3 separate regions of the Homo sapiens genome follow, and regions 2 and 3 are each linked to region 1. The links are contacts of gene promoters, found by promoter capture Hi-C in blood cells and fetal thymus (Javierre and others, 2016). All regions are on one chromosome and are shown on one strand. Each heading gives the region's core, a stretch centred on a gene start or on the middle of the fragment in contact. The rest is flanking DNA. Distances are from core to core; before and after follow the strand shown.

Region 1 (3,901 bases), core at 867-3,366:
TTGCTGCCCAATGCGATAGCATATGGGACAGAGCTAAATTCCTACTCAGCTGTAACTCTGCTTATTTTCAGGAAAAAGAATGCCTGTGTTTCGAAGTTCCTTCTTAGGACGAAACCAGCTGAAGCTGGCGAAATCCAAGATGGCGCCTCTGAAGAGCCTCTGGCTTTATCATCATCCTGTTCTCATGCTAAACAACATGTCGCCATGACAACGACTGGAAGAGACCAAGAAGGGACAGAAAAAAAGGGGTTTCTTGATTCCGGGAAAAATCTCCGTTCTTTCCCAAGGAAAGCACGAATATTCCCCCCCGTGCTCTTAATGCCCAGCCCCTTCATTAAAGACACCCTACCTCTGAAACTTCCCAGCTCTCACAAGCTAAGTTGATTTCAGATCTTCCAATTCCATAGCCATTGAATACAGCCTGCACTGCTTGACACACTCCCTTTCGGTTTCGTGCATTGGCCTCACCACGCAACAGGAAACAACCCTTTTTGGGATAACCGGGACTCCCGGTAACATTTCCATATATACATATCTTAATGTATGCAAGGGCGTCTGGGGGAGAAAGAAGCAGCACATTTCATTCTTTGCTTTCTATAATACTGGATTGCTTGAGTTTGTGACACATGTTAACATTTGCAACATTTTTAAACTAAATTGTATGTATTATAGAACAGTCCTCTGCGCTGAGCTTGGACTTAAAGTGGAAAGGCTTACATTTGCAGAATTAAAAAAAGCATCGAAACATTCTGTGGCAGGAAGTCCTGCGAGCCTCCTCGCCCCAGCCCGGTTTCCCGCGGGCCCCAGCCTCATCCCCCAAGGCCCCACCCTGAGAGCCCCCAGGTCCCAGCCGCGTCCTCCTGGACCCCTCCCAGGCGTGGCGAGCCGGGTCGCGGGAGCGCTCCGCCACCAGGGGACAGTGCGGCGCCGACCGTGGGCTGCTGGCTCGGCCGAGGGCACCCAGGCGCCCTCCGCTGCAGCGGGCTGGTTGCAGAGGGGCGGGCTCTCGCCAGGCAGCAGGCGCTCCGGGCGCAGCTGGGAGGAAGGAACGCCCCCGGGAGTGGGCGGCGGCCGAGGGACCCTGCAACCGTCCTCCCTGGAGGAGGCCCCCGCAGCTCCCGCAGCCCCCCTCATCCCGGACGGGCCGGGGATTGGGACTGGCCTGGGGTCTCCTACTCTCCTACTCCGCGCAGGAAGTAGCCCCTTGGCAGGACCGGCGGTGCCTGCTGCTTTCAGGAGCCCCGAGCCGCTTTTGTCTGGGTGCAGCTCAGCTCACATCCCCGATGCAAGTCTTTCCCGGCTCGTCTCCCCTTCTTCCCGGAGTCCATGCCTTGCTGTCGGTGACTCATCCCACACTGTGCCCTGCGACTCACCCTGTCGCTTTCTCTGTTCATCCGGGAGCGCGGCGCCATCTCCCTCCAGCCCCGCCTCCCCTACAGTGCTCCGTGCTGAGGTCGCACGTTCTCTCCTCCCTCCAGCTCCCTGGCTCTTGGCCCTTCCCAGGCCACCAGGCGACAGCAGCCTCCGCCTTCATTTCCCTTGGTCATTTCAGGCGCATGCTTGGAGGATTTCAGGATCTGACTCAGCTTCCCCGCCATGCATCCCTCCACCAGCATCCAGTCACACCTCTGCAGCCTTCAGTGTCCTGGAAAGGACTGACCAATCTGACCCATTAGAACCTACCCAGACCAATTTGAAGGCCACTGCCCCTCAACCGTGGCCACCCACTCCTGCCCCACCTGGAGCCCCAAACTGCTCAGTTCCTTCTCTAAAACTCTGCCCTCTTTTGTTTGTTGTGAATAACTGTCTTCCCTGGTTCTTTCCACACCTCTCTGGCCTCTCCTTGTCTTTTTCTGGTTCTTTTTTTCTCTATTCTCCCTTATGCACTGGCCTTGCTGGAGGTCCCTGCTCTCCCTGCAAAACCTCACCACACCCTTGACTTCAGCTATATCCATTTCACCTCACGTTGACATCTGGTGCCTAGACCTCTCTCCCGAGCCTTCCACACCATGCCAAAAATGAAATTCATTTTCTCCTCTAAATTTGCTCACCTTCTTGTTTTCCCAATCTTATTTATTGTCACAGCCATTCCCCTGCTGGTCCAAGTCAGTAGTCTGAGAGTCATGCTAGACTCCTCCTTCCTTATCTACCCATCCACCAATCCCCAAGCCCTGTCTATCCTCCTTTTTTTTTTTTTTTTTTTCCAGTCAGAGTCTTGCTGTGTTGCCCAGGCTAGAGTGCAATGGCACGATCTCGGCTCACTGCAATCTTTGCCTCCCGGGTTCAAGTGATTCTCCTGCCTCAGCCTCCTGAGTAGCTGGGATTACAGGCGCATGTCACCACGCCCAGCTAATTTTTGTATTTTTAGCAGAGATGAGGTTTTGCCATGTTGGCCAGGCTGGTCTTGAACTGCTGACCTCGTGATCCGCCTGCCTCTGCCTCCCAAAGTGCTGGGATTACTGGCATGAGCCACTGTGCCTGGTCATCTATCCTCCTTTTTAAATAGCTCTGCCATGTGTGCCTGTCTCCCCTGACAGCTCACCCTCATCCTATTTGTCCACATTGCTGCAGAGTAGTCTCTTCCATACACCAGGAGTTCCCAACCCCCGGGCCACAGACCTGACTGGTCTGTAGCCTGTTAGGAACCAGGACACACAGCAAGAGGTGAGCCACCAGTGGGTGAGCTAGTGAAGCTTTATCTGTATGTGCAGCTGCTCCCCATTGCTTGCATTACCACCAGAGCTCTGCCTCCTATCAGATCAGGCAGCATTAGATTCTTATAGGAGCACAAACCCTACTGTGAACTGCACACATAAGGGATCTAGGATGTGCGCTCCTTATGAGAATCTAATGCCTGATAATCTGCCGTTGTCTTCATCACCCCCACATGGGGCCAGATAGTTGCAGGAAAACAAGCTCAGGGCTCCCACTGAAAATAAAGTGCACAAGAAGTGTCATGTGCTTGAATCATCCCGAAACCATCCTCTGCTGTCCAAGGAAAAATAGTTTTCCACAAAACCCCTCCCTGGTGCCAAAAAGGTTGGGATGGTTGCCATACATAACTCTGATGATGAGACCACGAAGCTCAGAATCCTCCAGAGGCTCTCCACTGCCTGTAAGATGAAATAAAATTTATGGGTGTGACTTATCCATAAGGGCCCAGTCTAAACTGCCTCATATTTAATTATATAGTAAGCTATTTGTTTCCTCAAACGTATATATTTTGGCCCATTTCCCAGTCTCCTAGGTTGGAATATGCTCTGTGTGTCACCTGGCCAGCTCATGCTCTTTCTCATTCTCAGCTCAAGTGTTAGGGACTCTATGACACCTTTCTTGATTCTCCCAGTCAGACATATTGTTGCTACTTTTTCTTAACACTTATCCTTTTATCCTTGGCACCACTAAAGCACATATCACATCAGATTTCACTTGTTTGCACATCTGTCTGGCATCTTGAGCCCAGGGACCGTGTCGCCTGTCTTCATGTCCCCAGGCCCTAGTGTAGCTCCCAGCCTATAGTGAGTGCAGAATAAAAGTTTGTAGAATGAGGCCAGGCGCGGTGGCTCATGCCGGTAATCCCAGCACTTTGTGAGGCCAAGGTGGGCAGATCACGAGGTCAGGAGTTTGAGACCAGCCTGACCAACATGGTGAAACCTCGTCTCTACTAAAAATACAAAAAATAGCCGGGTGTGGTGGCACGCGCCTGTAATCCCAGCTACTCAGGAGGCTGAGGCAGGAGAATCGCTCAAACCTAGGAGGTGGAAGTTGCAGTAAGCTGAGATCGCGCCACTGCACTCCAGCCTGTGCAACAGAGTGAGACTCTGTCTCAAAAAAAAAAAAAAAAGTTTGTAGAATGAATGAAACAATTAGTTACACCACAGTTAGTGAGTCATCGATACTT
Region 2 (3,901 bases), core at 435-2,934, 370 kb before region 1:
AGTTTAACTTGGGGTCAGGCATAAAATGGGGGGGGTGGGTAGAAATAGAAAATATACAAACAACAGGAATATAAAATGTGGGACACCTTCTGTGGCCTGGACATCCCTGCTGCCTCGAGCTCCCCGCAGCTGCTGATGTTCGCTAGCGCCTCTCGTCACCCCAGTACCACGCTCTGACCTTCTGTTCCTGCTGCACCTGTTCCCCACCCCAGCATCTTTGCCCGAGGGAAGGCTTCGTCCAATCCCGTTCCCGCCCTGGATGACCACGCCAGCTGTGGGCCTGCCTGGCCGAACGCAGGTCTCCATCAGAGGGGCCCGTCTGCATGGGGGTGCCTGCACACCTGTCGTGTCGACATCACTGAGGACCCCTTGGGGGCTCAGGCCAGCTTGAGGGCCTCTTTGTCTCCTAAATAACTGGGACAGTATCTGGGGCTTAGATGAGCAGTCAGCATAGCAATAAGTGACCGGAAATACAGAGATGTGTGGACTAAGACTGTTGAGGTTGACTCGGATGTGTGCAAAGGCCCCAAAGTGACCTCCCTCCACGGTTGAGCCGTTGCCTGAAACCCGACTATGAGAATGCAGTTCTGTATTTTAAGGCAGATGAGACAAATGCCCCCAAGAATGGCAATGCAGTGAGCTCTGTGACTCACCTCACCTCCTGGTGATTGAGCCTTTCTGATCCTCCTGAGTTTAAGGATCCTTGGGTGGATGGGTGGGCGGGGCACAGCTGAGGTCAGAGCTCTCAAAGGCCAATACTACGGACTTGCCTTTTTTGTTGTTGTTTTATTTGGAGGGGGGTGTTTGTTTTATCATGGTAAAATAAACATAGCATAAAAATTACCATTTTAACTACTTTTAATTGTACCATTCAGTGGCATTAAGTAATTCACATTTTTACACAGCCATCACCACCCTTCATCTCTAGAGGTCTTTTCATCTTCCCAAACAAACTCTGTCCCCAATAAACACTCCCCATTCCCATCCCTTAGTCCCGAGCAGCCACCCTTCTACTTTCTGTTTCTATGAATTTGCCTACCTAAGAACCTATTTAAGTGGATCATGCAATATTTGTCCTTTTGTGACTGGCTTACTTCACTTAGCATAATGTCTTCAGGATTCCCTCAGAACAAGGACCTCTAAGGACAAAAATAAGTGAAAATAAGAAAAAAAGAAAAAATGCTTCCTTTATACTATAGCATATGTTGGATATGGCCTCCCTTTTTAAGGCTGAGTTATATTTCATCCTCTGGATGGATCACATTTTCTTATCCATTCATCTGTTGATGGACACCTGCGTTGCTCCCACCTTTTGGCTGTTGTGAATATGCTGCCGTGAACATAGGTGTGCAAATATCATTTCAGGTCCTTGCTTTCACTTTTGGGGGGTTATACCCAAAAGTGGCATTGCTGAGTCAGATGGTAATCCTCTGTTTAATTCTATGAAGAACAGGGATATTGTTTTCTCCAGTTGGCTGCACCGTTGTACATTCCCACCAGGAATGTACTGGTGCACCAGGGTTCCAGTTTCCCCACATTCTTGTCAGCACTTGTTATTTCCTGTTTGTTTGACAGCAGCTACCATCCTGATGGATGTGAAGGGCTACCACATTGTCGCTGTGATGTACATTTCCCCGATGACAGTGACGTTGAGCATCTTTCCATGTGCTTCTTGGCCATCTGTATGTCCTCTTCAGTTTTTGTTTTGTTTTAAACTTGCACTCAGATGGATAGTTATATGTGTGACCTAAGGAGAACCACTCAGTGATGAAGAATAAACGTGGCAACACCAGCTAGCATAGCTTAGCAGCATCTGTTATCTGCCTGAGGGCGGTGAATTCCCAGTGAGATGCTCATTCTAGTACTGTCCTAGAATGAAATGAGTCTCAGCTGGCATGTTCCTCGCTCTCCTTCTCGGTGCCCATCTTTTTCTTAGTTGAAATGATCTGTGATTCTGGATGCAGCCCGTGTTGTTCTGGGACGTCTCTGTATTGCACTAAATTAATAAAGGAGCTTTCATTTTTGCAGTTATGTATTTTGAATTCCCTATTCTCTCTTCATCCTGAATGACTGAGACTTGATTAGACATCGGCACAGCGCACCTGACATGGCGCTGACATGGAAATGCAATGGGTGGCAGCTCGGGGTGCAGACCCCACCCAGGATGCTGTGCCCGAGGGGAGCCAGGGCTTCCCTTTGAAATGGCAAAGGTTCCCACCATCCCTCCAGCCCCCGATGGCAGATCCCTTCTCACTTCTTCCTCACTGGAGCTGTGACTCCTTCCGGTGTTTTCCTTGGGTTGATGAAACAGAAACTCTCCTGGGGCCTTTTTTATTTTATTTTTTAATTTTATTTGTGGTAAGAACATCTAACATGAGACCCACCCTCTTAACAGGTTTTTTCAGTGTACAGCACAGTATCGTGAACTATAGACACAATGTGTGCAGCAGAGTTCCAGAGCTTATTCATCTCGCCTGCCTGAAAGCTGATGCTAGTTGACGAGCAACTCCCCATGTCTCCCTCCCTCTACCCCCGGCAACCATCAGCCCACTCTTTGATTTTCTGAATTTGCCTATTTTTACATGCCTCATGTAAGTGGAATCATGTAGTATTTGTCCTTCTGTGACTGGCTTATTTCACTTAACATAATTCCTCCAAGTTCATCCACGTGTCGTACGTGTCAGAATTTCATTCGTTCTTAAGCGGAATCATATTCTATTGTATTTTTCACTGTGTTTCGTGTGTCCCTTCACCTATCAGTGGACCTCTGCGTTGTTTCCATATCTTGGCTGTTGTGGATAACACTGCAGTGAACGTGGGAGCGCTCACGTCAAGTGCTTTGAGATCCTAATTTCAATTCTTTTGGATAAGTACCTGGAAGTAGAATCACTGGATCATATGGCAGTTCTAGTTTTAGTTTTTTGAGGAACTGCCATACTGTTTTCCATAATGGCTGCACCATTTTTGCATCCCTACCAACAGTGTTTAAAGGTTCCAATTTCTCTCCATCCTGGGGACTTTGATACTGAGAACCTAACCTGTCTAGCCTCTTCTGCACTGGCCGCCTTTGCAAGAGCTGGTTGCCTCTCTGAAAACTCTCCTCCCAGGCCTCTTCCCTTCCCCTCACCCACATGGCAGGACAGTCCTACTTCCTTTTCCCTTAAGGGAAGATTCAAATGCTGCTTCTTTGGTGAAGTCTTCCCCAGGCCTCGTCCCTTTCTTTGCATTCCTGTAGCACAGAACCCCATCTGTGTCTTATAGGCACGTGTCTCTTCATCAGACTGTGAGCCCCTTGAGGCCGGTGGTGTGGCTTCATCTCGGCATCTCCCCTGGCATGGTGCTACCTCATCCTCCTTGCTGAATAAGTGAATGAAATGCATTCATTATACACAGCCGCCTTCTGTTTTCCATTATTTGTCATTATTCAGTGTGTTCTGTGAACCAGGAGCTGGGCATGGCTTGTTGAATAAGAACACAGTCCCTAAACTAAGGAGCTTTTAGGCTGGTAACCAAAAAGGGAAATTCTAAATTTTTTTATGATAAGCTTTTAGATATCTTTTTGATATTTAGAATGAAGTAAACACAGTAGATGTAGTCCAATTTTGGAAATCATTTAAGACCTGAGCCTAATTGAGCAGGTAGAAAGCCAGGAAGAACACACCTACTTTGTATTTGCAGTCCTTTCCTCATGCTAATTGATAAGGCGATTAATCCTTACACTATTGCTGAGCCACAACCCCATTTAAAAATAAAAATTAGGAAAGCTGTCTGGATAATTATTAGCAAAGACTTTACAGAGGCTGGGATAAGTCCTCCAGCTGGTTGTTTGCACTGGGAGTTTTACAGTGTACTTGACCTTTGCTTAAGGTAAGGGAGTTTGTTTGGCAAAAACAATGATACA
Region 3 (3,901 bases), core at 807-3,306, 290 kb before region 1:
TCCATTGCATTCTGAGAAAAAGGCTCCAAATCTGTGAATCTTCCTGGGGTTATTAGCATAGACCTGTGTATATCTGGTTTATGAGGGCCACCTGGGAACCCTGGGACTCCCATCCTCCCTGCCCAGGTCACCTTTGCCCAAGCCTCTTTGGGCATGAGCCACTGTGTCTGGCCTGCCCATCTTTTTACTGGATTATCTGTCTTCTTTTTGAGTTATAAGAGTGGCGTGGTGGCTCACGCCTGTAATCCCAACACTTTGGGAGGCCAAGGCGGGTGGATCACGAGGTTAGGAGATCAAGACCACCCTGGCTAACACAGCGAAACCCCGACTCTACTAAAAATACAAAAAATTAGCTGGGCATGGTGGCACGCGCCTATAGTCCCAGCTACTCAGGAGGCTGAGGCAGGAGAATGACATGAACCTGGGAGGCAGAGCTTGCAGTGAGCCGAGATCATGCCACTACACTCCAGCCTGTGCGACAGTGAGACTCTCAAAAAAAAGTTCTTTATATATTCTAGTTACAAGTCCTTTATCTGATATATGCTTCACGAATATTTTCTCCCAGTCTATGGTCTTTTTTTCTTAAACATGTATCTTTTGAAGGGTAGGAGTTTTTAATCCTAATGAAGTCCAATTGATCAGCTTTTTCTTTTATGGATCCTACTTTTGATGTTATGTGTAAGAAATCTTTGCCTAACCCAACGTCATAAAGCTTTTCTCTTGTTTTCTTCTAGAAGCGTTATAGTTTGAGCTAAGTTAAGCACTTAGATTTTATTATCCATTTTGAGTTCATTTTTTTACATGATGTGAAGGGTCCAACATCATTCTTTTGCACATGAATATCCTGTTGTCCCAGCACCACCTGTTGAAAAAACTATCCCTTCCCCCTCACTGGATTTGCCTCCATCTACAGTCAGTTGACCATAAATGTGAAGGTTAGTTTCTGAACTCCCAGTTCTGTTCCATTGATCTATTGATATATACACCAACACCACACTGCCTTAAGCCGTATGGCTTTATAGTTTTGAAACTGGGAAGGCAAGCCTTCTTTGTTCTTTTCCAAAATTGTTTTTGACTACTCTGAGTCTTTTGCATTTCCATATAAATTTTAGAATTGGCTGTTTTCTGAAAAAAAAAAAAAGTCACCTGGAATTTTGATAGGGATTATGTGGAATGTATAGATCAATTTGGGAAAAATTACCATCTTTATAATATTTAGTCTTCTAATTCATGAACATGGAATGTCACTCCATTTATTTTTATCTTTTAATTTTCAGCAATGTTTTATCTTTTTCAGCATACAAGTCTTGCATTCCTTTGTTATTTATTTCTAAACATTTTATTCATTGGATGTTATTGTGAATGGCATTTTCATTTTTGGGTGTTGCTAGCACGTAGACATATAATTGACTTTTGTATGTTGATCTTTTATCTTGTGACCTTGTAGGACAGTCTTTTGGTGAGTTAGGAGCTACCTATAGTGCCAACCAAGAGAACCACAGACTAGTCAAGAGCTGGAGTTATCTACCTGCCTCCTACCTGTTGCAGGGACCTCCCTTTCAGCCCACTCAGCCTCAGCAGTTCAAAGGATACAGCCCTCTTCACTTCAAGGGGGTGCCTAACGAGCAGCCCATTAGAAAGCTTCCCCAAACCAAAGGACCAGTCTACCTGCTGCTGTGGAGCGAGGCACACAACTCCACTCCCTCTTCCTTGAGACAAGGCCACCTCTGCCTACCTCCTTCAATGAGGCCCCAGAACTGGGGACCAGGCAGCCCTCTCTAGCCTGGCCTGACACCTGAGCGCCACGGTCCCACTGCAGCCTGGTACAGCACTGCTTTCTCAGGGGCCACAGAACACCTTTGTCCCAGTAATGTGTTTTTAGGTCAAAGTGGAGAGGTTTGAGGGATAGGGGTTCTGTAAGTTTTGCGTATCTACTAATCCCTGGGACTCTTGGCTGCTCCCGTACAAGGCAGGGAGTGGAAATCAATGGCTTGCCTTCTGGACTTTGGTTATCCTGAGCTCAGAGCTGCAGTGAGTTCCTCTCTGTCAGTGCACAGCTTCATTTGGGGGACCCTTCAGGCACAATCCTCAGAGATGGGACCGTTTCCAATGGTGGTATGTGAGCAATTTCAGGAGACACGTGGGCCATCAACTCACAGTGAGGAAACTACTCTTTTAAAGTATCTTGCAGTCTCTCCAGTTATGACAAAGAGAAAGTCTCTGTTCGTGTTGGTATGTCCTTAGTACCCTCTTTAACCCTTGGTAATCCCCCAGGCCTTCAGGAAATGGCATAATTTCAATCCCTTTTGTTTTTCCTTGTATACTACTTATGGCAAGTAATATCAGCTTCCCATTTACAGTAGTATTATATAAGGCTGCCTTTCAAAATAAAGTTCTCATGGTCCCCAGCCCTGAAAAAACAATAAAAATAGGAAACATTAAAGAAAAAGATAAATTAAGTAAAAGCTTTTGATTTGATGAGGAAAAACAGTCACTGCCGTAGAGTGGCCTTGTACAGACACAGCCAGGGTGCTGGTGACATGGGACGTGTGAGGTCGGGGTATACTGGGCAGTGCCCAGGGCAGCAGGGCCCCTGCAGAGGTGGCTTCCTGGTCCACCCCGAGCTTTCCCGGGATCCAGCCCGCTAGCCCACAGCAGCAATCCCTGTGCTTCCCTCCCCCTGCAGGTGTGGCGGGCTGGGGCTGGTGCTGGCCAGCGCGGGCTTCGGCATGCTGACGGCACCCATCATCGAGCTGCACAACCAGAAAGGCTACTTCCTGCACCACATCATCTTTGCCTGCTGCACGCTCATCTGCATCATCTGCATCCTCCTGCTGCCCGAGAGCAGGGACCAGAACCTGCCTGAGAACATTTCTAACGGGGAGCACTACACGCGCCAGCCGCTGCTGCCGCACAAGAAGGGGGAGCAGCCACTGCTGCTCACCAACGCCGAGCTCAAGGACTACTCGGGCCTCCACGATGCCGCAGCCGCGGGTGACACACTGCCCGAGGGTGCCACGGCCAACGGCATGAAGGCCATGTAGCCCGGCCTGCGGAACCCGGGGCTCCAGGGTCTGGGGCAGCTTGGGCACAGGTTTACAGACCAGGGACCGAACACGCAGCCAGGGGTGGGAAAGCTGCCTCAGCCAAGCTGAGCCTCTCAACTGGTGTGGGGAAATCCTGTCTTTCCAAAAGTCCAAGGAGCGCGGGTCGGAGGAGACAAACTCTTTGGAAATAACCCTTTCAAGACTTTCTTTTCTGCCGTTAAATGTGTGTATTTATTTTGGTCATTTTTACGAGAAGCACTTTATTCCCTCTCCCTCTCACTGATCACAAATGGAATCACCTCCCTGGGCAGCGAGACGCAGTTGCTCTGGGAAGATGCCACAGTGACCAGGGCCATGGCCGGTCCCTCTGGGGAGATGGGACACGGCTCCTGGCAGCACCCAGGAGCCCCCCAGGCTGCCTGCCTGCGTGCAGAGGCAGGAGAGGACCGTGGAGCGTTTCCGGGACTGCATTTTAGACGGAGTGAAATGTACATGAATTTGGCTTTTGCTAGAGTCTGTGTATGGTTTTTTAAGGTCCTTTTTCCCTTTCTGTTTGTAAGGTAAGAGCTTCTGTTCGTGTGCAGGGAAAGCAGCTCACAGACGCCGTTAAAACCAGCTTCATCTTTCCTTCAGGATCATCCTTTTGTACTTGATGCTGGAAGCTCTTGGAGAAAAAGCTTAAACATTTCACCAGAAATCTTAATTGAGCAGCAGTCATATCGCCACAGCTTTGTGAGTACACAGCTAACAGATGCGTCGAGACCTGAGATGTGCTCGTTTTTATTCCTCCTCTCCCAGATTGGCTCCAGCAGAAAAGTCCCTCGTGCACAGGCAGCTCTTGTGCCGGCACTACT

What was found. Contacts are between HindIII fragments. The CHiCAGO score rates a contact against its expected background, and 5 or more counts as called.
Region 2: a contact is called between a fragment that was not itself captured here and the fragment with the promoter of LINC01011 in region 1, in 2 of 17 cell types (non-activated CD4 T cells and naive CD4 T cells). The highest score is 5.5, in non-activated CD4 T cells.
Region 3: a fragment that was not itself captured here is called in contact with the fragment with the promoter of LINC01011 in region 1 in 1 of 17 cell types (activated CD4 T cells); the score reaches 5.1 in activated CD4 T cells.

The regions. Positions count from the first base shown.
Region 1 is chr6:2,986,182-2,990,082 of GRCh38, reverse strand. LINC01011 (long intergenic non-protein coding RNA 1011) reads right to left here and starts at 2,116. Exons shown (of 3, transcript NR_026856.1): 1 at 2,052-2,116; 2 at 350-555; 3 at 1-214. It overlaps NQO2-AS1 (NQO2 antisense RNA 1), which reads left to right. Exons shown (of 2, transcript NR_186367.1): 2 at 72-747. RefSeq lists enhancers at 22-181, 1-554, 555-1,364, 1,365-2,174 and a silencer at 752-1,171. The HindIII fragment of the contact is 2,996 bases long and covers 1-2,695 here.
Region 2 is chr6:3,357,193-3,361,093 of GRCh38, reverse strand. The region is part of intron 3 of SLC22A23 (solute carrier family 22 member 23); the gene reads left to right. Among named protein-coding and RNA genes, the nearest start is that of SLC22A23, 98 kb to the left of the region's middle. The HindIII fragment of the contact is 3,725 bases long and covers 1-3,546 here.
Region 3 is chr6:3,272,198-3,276,098 of GRCh38, reverse strand. It overlaps SLC22A23 (solute carrier family 22 member 23), which reads left to right. Exons shown (of 10, transcript NM_015482.2): 10 at 2,687-3,901. The coding sequence ends at 3,044. Among named protein-coding and RNA genes, the nearest start is that of PSMG4, 15 kb to the right of the region's middle. The HindIII fragment of the contact is 825 bases long and covers 1,644-2,468 here.